Linked DNA regions of Homo sapiens: region 2 is linked to region 1. Evidence: promoter capture Hi-C in 16 types of primary human blood cells and fetal thymus (Javierre and others, 2016). All regions are on one chromosome and are shown on one strand. The core of a region is centred on a gene start or on the middle of the fragment in contact, and the rest is flanking DNA. Distances in the headings are between cores, read along the strand shown. Region 1 holds the start of PIK3R2 (phosphoinositide-3-kinase regulatory subunit 2). Region 2 holds the start of MAP1S (microtubule associated protein 1S).

Region 1 (6,741 bases), core at 3,356-5,855:
CTGCAACGAAAACGCCAAAAAAAAAAAAAAAAAGGAAAAGGACAAGGAGGAGGTGGAGGTGGGTGACACTCTGGCCGGTGGGTTGGGAAACTCAACCCTGAGAGTGGCCTGGGATCAATCTGCAGAATGGGGAGGGGGTTCCCATCAGAACTGCATCACCCCGACTTTGCAGGTGAGGAATTGTGGGTCAGAGGGGCTGCAACCTCCCCCGTGGGTGCACAGCCAGGTGGGGCTCAGGTGACTTCAGCACATTTCCGAGGGGTTGGGTCCCAGCATCCCCAGGGACCAACCCTGTTGTTTCCAGATGAGGAAACTGAGGCCTCGAGGGGGCGGGTTCTGGCCGAGGTCACATAACCCTGGAAGATTCAGAGGGTGGGGCTGGGCAGCCGCCCCACGTGGGGCCGTGTATGGTGGCTGGACAGAGGCCAGGCAGAGGAGGGAGGTGGCTGTTACCAGGGGGAGAGGCAGATTCTGGCTGGGAGCCCAGACGGGGCCACCTCCTGCTCCTTCAGGCCGAGGCAGGACGCAGGCCTGGGCCCTGGAGATACCAGATGCCTGGAGGCTGGGGCCAGCGTCGCACCACCTCAGCACCCCCTATTCCGCCCTGCGCTGGGGGACTCTGGTTTGCCTTTGGGCAATGTCACCCTGGCACAAAGCAGGCCTGGCACCTCCCGGGGCTTTGGCCTCCCTGGGTGACCAACTGGTTTCAAGTACGGCATTTGACGGCCTTGCACTCAGGCCTCCCGGTCTGCACACAGGGCCTTTTGCTGGGCTGCTGGGAGGGTCGGAGCAGACCATGCCGAGCATGCAGCACCTCTTAGCCTCCTCCTTGCAACCTGGGCCACAGTTTCCCCGGCCAGAGCCCACACTCCCTGCCCATCAAACAGCAGTCACTGAGTGGGCTCGGTGCCCCCGATTCTCTACACCTGGCACACCCCTGGCAAGTGGTGATGGCCAAGGGTCTTTGAAGAGGGATGTGGGGTCCTCATATCCCACTGTGCTGTGTGGCCTCAGCTGAGCAGCCCACATCCTACCCTCCTTGTGGCTTCATTTTGGAAATCAGGGTCTCCAAAGGGGTTCTTCAAGGGACCCTGTCTGCAAAAGGCAGGATGAAGCTAGGCTGAGCCTCTGAATCCTACTGAACACTCTCCATTGTCCTCAAAATCAATCCCACTAAGTCCTCCATGCCAGCGCACATTGCCCTCCCCTTCCTCCCTCTGGTCCTCCTGCTGGCCGTTCCCGCCATTAGAGTTCTACTCCACAGCCTCTGCCCTCGCTGCCCCCACTGCCTTGAGCTTCCACCCTCGCATCTTCCCACGCAAGCCCCCTTCCTCATGGCATGTGTCACCTCCTGAACCCACTCTCATCCCTTCTTGAACCAGAAGCTCATGAGGGCAGGAACAGGCCTTGTGTCCACTGCTGAGCCTAGCACTGAAGACACTTGTCAAATGACCAAATGTCCTTTTTCCTCCTTCCTTGGAGATCCCATTGCCTCACTGGACAGAAGAGGAGACCAAGGGTCTGAGGGGACCACCCCCCTTTCCAGGGCCCCTGCTTGCTGCTCACCTGGCTCAGGGGCCCCATCACGGGGCCTGGCGGGCAGTGGGCGGGGGCCCCGTGGGCGAGGGCCGGGCCGGGCCAGGGCCACGGGCCCCAGGAACTCCACATAGGTGCCAGGGAAGTCACCTCGCTGCCGTGTGCGCTCGTTGAGGCCGGGCATCCAGCCCACGCTCTGTGGGCAGCGCTCGCCACCCTCGGCCACGCCCAGCGCCTGCAAGGCCGCCCGGCTCACTACCAGCACGTCGCCGGGCAGCAGCTCCAGGTCCTCCGGCCGCTCCCGGCGGAACGGGTACAGAGCGCGGTACTGGAAGCCCTCAGGGCCCGCCATGGCCGCGTGAGTGGGGTGGGGTCTGGATGGTTAGGTGGCTGCTTGGAGCCCCACTGGCCCCATTGGTTGAAGCAGGGCTGGGAGGGTCCGCTGGGTTGGCTTGGGGTGCTGGGACCTCTATCTCCAGCAGTCACAGGCGACCACAGGGGCCGCTCATGCCTCGCTTCAAATTATTCCATGACCCTTACAAGGGCCACTCGTCACTGGGTCCACCATTCGTCAGCTGGTGGGAGGGAGTTGGTGGTGTGGTGTCAGGTCACTGGGCCATTGAGTCCTCCATCAGCAGGTGAGGCTGGGGCAGGCCGCTCACGCCCTCACACGGAGGGCCATGGGCGCCCAAGGCTGGCGGCTCTGCTGGCTGCACCAGACAAGGGAGCCAAGGGTGCAGGCTGCCACCATGCTCGGCCAGCTGAGGACGCCGACCTAGGGAGACAGGGATAGGGCAGCGTTAGCCAGGCCAACTCCTCTCACCCCCAACACGGAGATGGGCCCAAATCCTGATTTGGAATTCCCTGAATCACTGGGTGACCTTGGGGCCGGTCCCTCTCAGGGCCTCAGCTTCTCTATCTGTAAAATGGGTATACTGACAGCCTTCCCTTGGAGCTGCTGGGAGTAGAGTTCCCAAGAACCTGCCCCAGGTATACTACATGCTCAGTAAATCAGTTTTTTTTTTTTTTTTTTTTGAGATAGAGTCTTGCTCTGTCACCCAGGCTGGAGTGCAGTGGTGTGATCTCAGCTCACTGCAACCTGTCTCCCAGGTTCAAGCAATTCTCCTGCCTCAGCCTCCCGAGTAGCAGGCCACCACACCCAGCTAATTTTTGTATTTTTAGTAGAGACGAGGTTTCACCATGTTGGCCAGGCTGGTCTTGAACTCCTGACCTCAAGTGATCTGCTCGCCTTGGCCTCCCAAAGTGCTGGGATTACAGGCATGAGCCACCTTGCCCAGCCTTTTTTTTTTTTTTTCCAATAGAGGTGGGGTCTTGCTATGTTGCCCAGGTTGGTCGCAAACTCCTGGGCTGAAGCAGTCCTCCTGCCTCTGCCTTCCAAAGTGTTGGGATTACAGGTGTGAGCCACCGCGCCCGGCCAGTAAACAGGCTTTTCATCACCCCTGTTACAGATGGGGAAACTGAGGCTCAGAGCAGGGAGGTATCTAGGGCCGTGCAGTAGGCCAGGAGGAAGCCAGGACTTACACCTAGATCTGCCGACTTGGCCCAGTTGGACATGAGGGGGCAGCAGCCAGGTGGCCAGATACCTAGGGCAGGGAGGACGCAATGGAGGCCACTCCGGGTGCTTTGGGAGCTCCATAGAGGGGTCAGGCCAGCTGAACTAAGAGGTAGGGAACAAAGTCCAGGAAGAGGCCTCTACACAAGCAAAGGCCTCGAGGTGAGTCCAAGCAAATGGACCTCCAGTCTCTGCAGAGGAGGAGTGAGTGGGCTGGCAGGTAGCTCCAGCCTGGGGCCCAGAGTAGGCACAAAATGCAGATGGGGAGGTGCTTAGAAGGAACCTTAGCCCCAGGCAGGGACAGGGAGCCAGGAGAAGGTGGGGGTACTGCAGCTGAGGAGGAGGGGAGGCTGCCGGCAGCAGGGCATTGATTATTCCCCAGGAGTCCCAGCCTGGGGAGGCGGAGATAGGCACACATTCCCAGCCTAGCCCTGCGGGTTCAGACGCCCTGTGATGGACAGGGCTAGGGTCGGGGGATGGACGTGCTGTTCTAGAGAATGGATCATCACAGCGGATAGGAAGGCGCGACAGGCAGACGGAACGGCACATGCAAAGCCTTGGCAGTGGGTTAAGTTGCTTGTCAAGGATTCAGGGTGGCTATAAGGATAGGTGCTATCCACCAAGAGGCCCGAGTGTCAGGTGGAGGCTCTGAGCATCCTTCAGTCACGGGGAACCCCAAGAGGTGTCCGAGCAGGGCGGAGGGGCGCCACATTCTCGGGTGCCCAATTTACCCATTCCTAGGCCTCTGTTACCCTCATTCTACAGGTGGGGAAACTGAGGCCCCGAGAGGGGATGCCCAGAAAACCGCCTGGATCTGCCTGCCAGCCCGCCCCCACGCCCCGGTGTGCGCGCCCCGGGAGCAGCGCTCCCCGAATCCGGGAGGCGGGAGGGGCGGGGCAGGCAGGGCTGGGGGCTCCGCGGGTGAAGGCAGGGCCTGAGCGCTCACACAGACGCGCACTTGGGTCTGCGTGGACCCGGCCACCCGGCTAGGGGACCGGAAGTGGGTTCGACCCCCGGCCCTCCCGCACCCCATTCTGCCCCGCACAATGCCTGGGCGCCCCTCGGTACTATTCGAAGCCCCATTCCAGGCAGGGCCTCCCTTCATTTGGGGCCTCGGCTCCAGTCCGGTATCTTGGACGCGGGGAGTCTCTCCCCATTCTGCCCCGACCGTCCCAAGGAGGCTGCACCGCTGCGGAGCCGAGCCCGAGGCCCCCCCTTGCCTGCGGCCCCCCCAGTTCCCGCGGGGCCCGACGCAGCCTGGCGCTTGCGTTCTGGCTTCCACCGGGGCCCGGCACTGCCCCCGGGCGCCCCGCATTTAAGCACACTCCCAGCCGCCCCCGCCACGAGGGCCAGTCAGGACTCACCTGGTCGCGGCCGCCACCGCCGCCGCAGCCGCCGTCACACCAAGCCAAGCCCGCCCCGTGGCTCCACCGCGGCCACCGTCGCCGCAGCCGCGGGATCCCCGCCTCCGCCGCCGCCACGGTTCCGAGCGGCCTGGCCCGCCCCCGGCGGAAATGCCCGAGCGCATTCGAGCCGGGCGGATGAACCGAGGCCGAGGCGGAGCCTGAGGTAAGGGGGCACCCGAGTGTTTCCGGAAGTAGCCGAACGTAATCCCGCGGGACTGGTGGACTAGAGGGTGCCCCCGAGACAGCCGAGCGTTTCCAGAGGTAGCCGAGTGCAATCGGGTCGGCGAGGGATCCGAGACTGGGCTCGGCTGGGCTTAGAGACGCCCGAGCGCTTTCGGAAATGGCCGAACACTCTCTACGGCCGCACTGGCACAACTGAGGCTGATCCCCAAGACCGCGGAGCGTTTCTGGAAATAACCGAATGTGCTCAGTGCCCAATGGAGGCCTTGGGAGTTTAGACCCAGAGGCGACCGCCAGCTTATGGGAATTACTGAAGCATAGATGGTTCCAGGGGACAAATGAGGCGTTCTCAAGCTCAGCAAACAGGGGGCAGTAGAGTGGGGAAAGGGCCTGCCGCAAAAAGCAGAAGTCGGAGAAAGCCAGGGTTGAAGGAGTTTCCATGGCAACCCAGAGCGTCCGGAAACAGCCAACGATCTCGACCCCTACGGGCACTAGAATTTAGCGGACTTGAGCCTAGATGCCGACGGTTTCCGGAAATAGCCGAACGCACTCGGAGATGGGGCTGTAGCCAAGAGTGTTTGCATGCCGGCTGAGCGCCCCGGAAGTAACGGATTGCTCTAGGGCTGGGCCGGGTTCGGCTAGAGGGAGTTTTATGGCAGAGCGCAAGCTAAGACCAGGATAGAAAGGACGCGACGATTGCTTATTTTGTTATTATTTTTTGAGACGGAGTTTCGCTCTTGTTGCCCAGGCTGGAGTGCAATGGCGCTATCTCGGCTCGCCGCAACCTCCACCTCCCGAGTTCAAGCGATTCTCCTGCCTCAGCCTCCCGAGCAGCTGGGATTACAGGCATGCGCCACCACGCCCGGCTAATTTTGTATTTTTAGTAGAGACGGGGTTTCTCCATGTTGGTCAGGGTGGTTTGGAACTCCCGACCTCAGGAGATCCGCCCGCCTTGGCCTTCCAAAGTGCTGGGATTACAGGCGTGAGCCACCGCGCCCCGCCGCTTATTTATTTTATTAACATAGCCCAGGGCGCCCAGGAGGTCGAGGCTGCAATGTGCCGTGATTGCGCCACTGTACTCCAACCTGGGTTACAGAGCGAGACCTTGTCTCAAAAACATAAAAATAAAAAACATAGCTCAGGGCCCAGATGTCTGGAGGAAGCTTTTAAAGGCAGGGCTATGATGGAGTACTCGCAGGGAGAGGGTAGCAGGAGGCTGGTACCAGCGATGGCATCAGGAAGAATCTCAACAGCGAACTGCTATGCAGTCCTCAAAACCCACTTGCAATGACTTTGAGCCATGGGTCTATTTCACTCCGCTCCCCTCCCCACTCTTCCCTTCCTCCTTTCTCAGCCCCTCACAAATCCAGACGTTGGAGCTCATCTTTGTAAATACGGGCTTTTATTCACTGCCAGCTCCAGGATGGAAGGAGGGGGTGAATCATGCACAGCCTTGGTCTACCCTCCAACACTAGGCAGTGCTGGACAGGGGACTCAGAAAGGGAAGCAGAGTGGGCTGTTGATGTCTGGAAAGCTCCCTCACCAGAGTGCCCAGTGGGTCACACAGCATCATGGGGGATGAGCTGGGGCTGGAGTCGGCTGTATCTGACACCAGACCCTCCATTCAAGCTCCCTTGATGACAACGCCCACAACAGGGTCTGGCTGATGCTCCGTTCTGCCACGACTCCTGCTGGGTGATCGTGGGACAGGTCTCCGCCCCTCGCTGGGGTCTCAGCTGCTTTGTCTGTAAAATGGAGGTGATGACACCACCTCCAGCCTTCTCAAGGCTGGCTGAGGGAGAAGCCACGTAAAAGCGCTTGGCACACAGTAGGTGCTTAATAAACAGTCAATGGGATTAGTCTTGTAAACACAAGGAAACTGAGGCACAGAGTGGGAAAGCCATTTTCCCAGAGCCACACAGTGAAGCTGAAATTCAAACTTGAGCCTCGACTGGGTTTTCTGGCTTGAACTTCATCCCAGAGAGGCTCTGACATATGGAGGGAACCCCTAACAGGTGTTTCAGACACATCACGGCCAAGGGCTTA
Region 2 (6,528 bases), core at 3,507-6,006, 430 kb after region 1:
CCCTCCAGGACGTCAGCCATTCCCTACCTCATCATACAGGGACTTGTCTGATGGGTTCAGGAGGACCAGGGTCTCCAGGTTGTCTCCACGGTGGTGCAGGCTCCGCTGGCCTGTGGGGGAATCAGGCCGTCCCGGAGTCAAATCCTGCCTCCCCGTGTGACCCTCAGGGAACATGAACCCCTCTGGGAACCCACCCAGGGATCATATGGAGATTAACAGGCGCACGGCAGAGCTGCAGGTCAGGACCAGGCAAGAAAGAGAAACTCAAACCACCCCAGCTGGCCTAAGAGAGGCAGTAACCAGAGGGCCCCATCGTGCGCAGGGCCTGGTTTGCAGCTGTCACCCCTGGGAGTGATGCCACCATTTTCTTCTTTTTTTTGTGAGACGGAGTCTCGCTCTGTCGCCCAGGCTGGAGGGCAGTGGTGCAATCTCTGCTCACTGCAAGCTCCGCTCCTCCTCCCGGGTTCACGCCATTCTCCTGCCTCAGCCTCCCGAGTAGCCAGGACTACAGGTGCCCGCCACCACACCCGGCTAAGTTTTTGTATTTTTAGTAGAGACAGGGTTTCACCGTGTAAGCCAGGATAGTCTCCATATCCTGACCTCGTGATCCGCCTGCCTCGGCCTCCCAAAGTGCTGGGATTACAGGCGTGAGCCACCGCGCCCGGCCTTTTTCTTTTCTTTTTTTTTGAGACGGAGTTTTGCTCTTGTTGCCCAGGCTGGCGTGCAACAGTGCAACCTGGGCTCACTGCAACCTCCGCCTCCTGGGTTCAAGCAATTCTCCTGCCTCAGCCTCCCGAGTAGCTGGGATTACAGGCACACGCCACCACGCCCCATTAATTTTTTCAATTTTTAGTAGAGACGGGGTTTTAACATGTGGGTCAGGCTGGTCTCAAACTCCTGACCTCAGGTGATCCGCCTGCCTCGGCCTCCCAAAGTGCTGGGATTACAGACTTGACCCACTGCACCCATCCGGCCACATTTATTTTTCAGACAGAGAGCCAGAGCTCGAGGAGGGCCAATGAGGGCGAACGTGGACGAGGGTACATCCGGAGCAAAGGTCCTGAGGCAGGACTCAGCTAGGGGTGGGGCAGCATAAGGGCCGGGGCTGAAGTAGGGCTGTTTCTGGGATCCTGACCCTGCTCTGTCCCCCAGGGCCCGTATGTGTTTTAAACATCAGTACTGTGAGAGGGGGGTGGCAAGGAGCCAGAGCCGGGGTGGGGGCCGGTGAGGGCCAACCCGGACCAGGGTACAGCACCAGCCAAGGCCCCTGAGGCAGGACTGAACTGTGAACAAGGCTGAGTCTTGAGAGGCAGAGACCCTCCAGTGTTGCCAGCCCTTATCACATTTAACTTTCTTTCCTTTCTTTCCTTCTTTTCCCTTTCTCTCTCTCTCGCCCTTATCACATTTAGCTTTCTCTTTCCTTTCTCTCTCTCTCTCCCTCCCTCTCCCCCTCCCTCCCTCCCTCCCTCTCTCTCTCTCTCTTTTTTGAGATGGAATCTCCCTCTATTGCCCAGGCTGAAGTGTAGTGGCACGATCTCAGCTCACTGCAACCTCTGCCTCCTGAGTTCAAGCAATTCTCCAACCTCAGTCTCCCAAGTAGCTGGGGTTATAGGCGCTTGCCACCACAACCAGCTAATTTTTGTATTTTTAGTAGAGATGGGGTGTCACCATACTGGTCAGGCTGGTCTCGAACTCCTGACCTCAGGTGATCCACCCACCTCAGCCTTCCAAAGTGCTGGGATTATAGGTGTGAGCCACCATGTCAGGCCTAAGTTTATTTTTTTGAGACAGGGTCTCGCTCTGTTGCCCAGGCTGAAGTGCAGTGGCACAATCTTAGCTCACTGCAGCCTCTGCCTCCTGGGTAAAAGCGATCCTCCCTCCTCGGGCTCCTGAGTAGCTGGGACTACAGGTGTGCACCACCAGGTCCAGCTCATTTTTGCATTTTCAGTAGGGACAGGGTTTCACCATGTTGCCCCAGCTGGTTTTGAACTCCTGACCTCAAAAAATCCTCCCACTTTGACCTCCCAAAGTGTTGGGATTACAGGCGAGAGCCACCCCACCCAGCCTTAGCACGCTTTTTGCCACACAGGGATATTGCCCCATTCAGGTGGGGAAATCAAGGCATAAAGAAGGGAAGTGGCCACGAAGTTCACACACAGCAGACAGGATTTCCAGCTCCACTTTCTGCCCCATGAAGTGTCAGGAAGCCACAAGGACCAACTGGGACAATGAGACTACAGACACTTCCTTCCTCTCCAGCAGCAGCCGGGAGGTGACTCAAGAGACCATCAGGAGCCGGGGGCGGCTGCAGGCAACACCCAAGCCCTGCCTGCCCGCCTGCTGCTCTGCTCACCCTGGGTCACCCTAGAAGGGAGCCTCGTGCTGAGTTGGGCCCTTCTTGATCTCACTCCTTTTCAGTTCCCTGCCTACTGTATACCCAGGCCTGTGGCTGTGAACCAGTATCAGTCCCTTCCTGCAAGGGGCCCACACTCCATCTTCCAGGGCCTGCTCAGTGCCCCTCCACCTTCCAGATGTTTTTTGTTTGTTTGTTTGTTCTGAGACAGAGTCCCTCCCACTCTGTCACTCAGGCAGGAGTGCAGTGGCGCAGTCTCAGCCCCACTGTAACCTCTGCCTCCTGGGTTCATGTGATCCTCCCACCTCAGCCTCCCGAGTAGCTGGGATTAGAGGCGCCTGCCACCATGCCGTTATTTTTGTATTCTTAGTAGAGACAGGGTTCCTCCACGTTGGCCAGGCTAGTCTCCAACTCCTGACCTCAAGTGATCCGCCCGCTGCGGCCTCCCAAAGTGCTGAGATCAGAGGCGTAAGCCACCGCGCCCGGTTCATTCTAGATGTTCTGTCCACTGCTGGGTCTTGACTGGGGCCCTTCCCTTCCACTGGACACACCAGTCATAGCAGTTTCTCATCAAAAAACCCCCTCCTCAGAGATCTCCCTGCCTCTTCCCCCTTCAATGCCAATTTCCTCATCTGTCAATCAGGGACAAAAACACCAGTTCCTGCACTGTGGGTTGCTGAGGACTGAGGGGGTTATCACTGGGTCACGGCTTGCATTTGAAAGGTCTCAACTGTATTATTACTGTTGTTATTTATAGCTGCATCCCACCCCCCATGCCTGGCACACGGCTGGCACTTCCCCAAATAACAAGAGGTAGGGAGCAGTCAGGGGGACCCCAGCCTCACCTTTCACAATGCTGGAGAAGGTGGCAGAGTGTCGGGACACAAAGACCTTGAGCTGTTCATCAAGGTTGCAGACGCCAGGATCGACATCCCAAGACCGGATGCCTGGTGGGAAGGAGGGATCAAGGCGGGAGTTCAGCCGGGCCCCCCAGCTCCCAGAATATTTCAATAATTAGCACCCCGTGGGTGGGGAGCGCCCCAGCCTCCTCCCTTCACTCACAGCTTGGAGACTCAGAAGTACCCAACACCTTCAGGTCTCGCTGCAGCTGAGCCAGGGGACCCAGAGCACACCTCATCATTTTACACACAAGATTCATCAGCAACAAAGCCTCCACCTCCTCCATCTCCACCTCCTCGCTGCTCCTATGCCCTGCCAGACCCGTTTCCACTCACCGCCCTTGCAACAGCTGTTTCCCCTGCCTGGAAGTCCATCCCCCTGCCGCCCCCACCTGTTCCTACTGGCCAGGGGGCCCTTCCCCCTCAGCACCTTCGGGTGCTAAGACTGACTGTCCTCTCAGTCCCTTGCAGCCTTCTCATCCTTCCTGACACCATGTGAGCTGGAAGCTTGTTCCATCTCCTCACTCGCTTTGGGTCCATCCCCAAACCAGACCTGTGTTGGCAGGGCTGAACCTGTCTATCATCCCGGCCATATCCCTGTGTCCACTGCCCAAAGGCCTGGCGCATAGCAGGTGCTCACTAAACACTCCTCAAGCACATGAACCGAGGTGCGTGTTCCTGTCCCATTTTACATGCAATGAAACGCCAGGTCCAGATGCTCCGAGGGATGGGGGATGAACACCCATCTCCACCCACGGGCGCATCACGCCCGCCAGTCCCACTGAGCCAAGTGGCTGCAGGTGAACCTGGCAGGTGCGCCTATGACTCACCTCCCTAGGTGCCAAATCCCCAGGGCAGGCCGCACCCGCCCACACCCCAATTAGCAGCTCCTTGTGAGGCAACAGAAAGCGGGCCCCGGGGCTCCAGGCCCAGCCTCCCCCATATCTGCTTCTCCCTCCGGGAGATCTCTATCTAAGCTGCTAAGACCTGGAGATCCAAAGCGACCCCAGGCCCTACCCCCGGGCAGGCCAGTCAGGCGGGAAGCGGAGCCGTGGTCCAACTGCAAGGGTCCCCAAGCCCAGGCCCGTGTCCCCTCCCCTATCTTCACCCGGAGTTGGGGCGGGGCAGCCCTGCCCAGCCCAGGCCCGGATGCCACTTTCTCCGCGGGCACCCACGGGCACCCCGCCTTTGCCCGCGTCGTGCGCCTAACGGTGAAGGGGACCCAGCCCCAGGCCCGCGACCCCCGCCCCGGAGCCCGGGTCCCGCCGCCGCCGCCGCCGCCGCCCCACCCCGCCGGCCCCGGGCCCAGACGCGCGAACGGGCCCGCCTCCCGGGCTCCCGCGGGCCCCCAGGCCAGCCCGACCTCTTTCGAGCTCCTCCAGGACGTAGGTGAGGAGCCCCGGGCTCCCGAACTCGCTGCCCACCACGAGGAGCAGTGAGCTCGGAGCCGCGGCAGCCCCAGATCCAGCCACCGCCGCCATCTTCGGGCCGCCCCGGCGTTCTCGGCGCCCGCCCCGCAGGCCCCGCCTCTTAAAGGGGCCGCACCGGAAGGGCTGAAGACCCCGCCCGGAACCACCGCATCCCCGCCCCTTTTTGTCGACCACTTACAGGCCCTTTGAGGTCGTGGAGAGCAGGGGATGCGGGCGTTAAAGGGGTTGGCCGACTCCTGGGTGTCCGCTTGGGAGCCGCCTCTCCCAAGTGACCATTCATTCATTTTTTTTTTCATTGAACAAGCTTTGATTGCGTGCCTGCTGCATGTAGGTCAGAACTCCTGCCCTCCAGGAACTCACATCACATGACAGTAGGCCGCATCAGAACCCGGTGCCTATGGATGCTCCCAGCTCTCTAGGTCAGGGCTTGAACAGAGAAAAGAAATCTATCTTGTAGGTAGGGCTTTAAGGGATGTGTAGGAGTTTGCCTTGTGGGTGGTGGGGCAAGAGCTGGTGAGGCAGAAGTTTACAGCAGGTGCAAAGTTTTAGAGGTAAGAAAGTACATGTGTGTTTGGGACACAACCGGAGCACTCTGGGCCTGCCTGGAACAGGGCAACACTTATTCTGCACCTCCTGTGCGCCAGGTATTTTATTGCATTAGCTCATTACATACAAGCACAAAGCGATGAGTTTTGTGCTTGTATGTAGGCACAGATGAGTAGGCACAGTTACTGTGGTCACTTTCAGAGGAAAGAAGAGGAAACTGAGATTTGGAGGGATGAAGTCACCAGGCCTGTAAGTGGTAGAGCAGGTTTGAACCCAAGTGGGTCTTACTCTAGATCCAGCCTGTGCAAGGGACTGCCTGCGTTGCGCACATGGGTACCTCTCTCTCCCCAGATAATCCTCTTTAGGCTTTTCTTTCCTTTCCTCCCCTCTCTTCTCCTCTCCTCCCCTCCCCTCCTCTCCTCTTCTCCCCTCCCCTCCCCTTCTCTCCCCTCTCCTCTCCTCTCCTCCCCTCCCCTCCCTTCCTCTCCCTCCCCTCCCCTCCCCTCCTCTCCCCTCTCCTCTCCTCTCCTTTCCTTTTCTTGAGATGGAGTCTCATTCTGCCGCCCAGGCTGGAGTGCAATGGCACAATCTCAGCTCACTGCAACCTCTGCCTCCCGGGTTCAAGCGATTCCCTTGCCTCAGCCTCCCAAGTAGCGGGATTATAGGTGTCCGCCACCATGCCCTGCTAATTTTTGTATTTTAGTAGAGATGAGGTTTCTTTTCTTTTCTTTTCTTTTCTTTTCTTTTCTTTTCTTTTCTTTTCTTTTCTTTTAGAGACAGAGTCTCGCTCTGTCGCCCAGGCTGAAGGGTAGTGGCGCGATCTCGGCTCACTGCAAGCTCCACCTCCCAGGTTCATGCCATTCTCCTGCCTCAGCCTCCCGAGTAGCTGGGACTACAGGCGCCCGCCACTGTGCCCAGCTAATTTTTTGTATTTTCAGTAGAGACGGGGTTTCACCGTGGTCTCGATCTCCTGACCTCGTGATCTGCCTGCCTCGGCCTCCCAAAGTGCTGGGATTACAGGCGTGAGCCACCGTGCCCGGCAGAGATGGGGTTTCACCATGTTGGCCAGGCTGGTCTCGAACTCCTGACCTCAAGTGATCCTCCTGCCTTGGCCTCCCAAAGTGCTGGGATTACAGGCGTGAGCCGCCGCGCCTGGCCCCCTTTAGCCCTTTGACCCATAGGGGCTACTACTTGACAAATCATCTTGCTTGGAACTTCTGGACAGTGGTCCATGCCCAGGAAACATTGAACCTCCTTTCTCAGGAGTGAGCTCCCTGTCTCCGGGAGTATGCAAAGAAAA

What was found. Contacts are between HindIII fragments. The CHiCAGO score rates a contact against its expected background, and 5 or more counts as called.
Region 2: the fragment with the promoter of MAP1S here is called in contact with the fragment with the promoter of PIK3R2 in region 1 in 2 of 17 cell types (fetal thymus and endothelial precursors); the score reaches 6.9 in fetal thymus.

The regions. Positions count from the first base shown.
Region 1 is chr19:18,151,027-18,157,767 of GRCh38, reverse strand. It overlaps PIK3R2 (phosphoinositide-3-kinase regulatory subunit 2), which reads right to left and starts at 4,605. Exons shown (of 16, transcript NM_005027.4): 1 at 4,474-4,605; 2 at 1,567-2,311. The coding sequence starts at 1,888. It overlaps MAST3 (microtubule associated serine/threonine kinase 3), which reads right to left. Exons shown (of 28, transcript NM_001393504.1): 28 at 6,081-6,741. RefSeq lists enhancers at 284-1,142, 4,755-5,034, 4,340-5,232, 5,775-5,854 and silencers at 3,735-3,954, 4,265-4,644. The HindIII fragment of the contact is 8,629 bases long and covers 1-5,860 here.
Region 2 is chr19:17,717,708-17,724,235 of GRCh38, reverse strand. It overlaps MAP1S (microtubule associated protein 1S), which reads right to left and starts at 4,756. Exons shown (of 7, transcript NM_018174.6): 1 at 4,616-4,756; 2 at 3,199-3,300; 3 at 28-110. The coding sequence starts at 4,733. RefSeq lists enhancers at 3,565-3,714, 4,105-4,174, 6,225-6,528 and a silencer at 4,525-4,574. The HindIII fragment of the contact is 1,227 bases long and covers 3,762-4,988 here.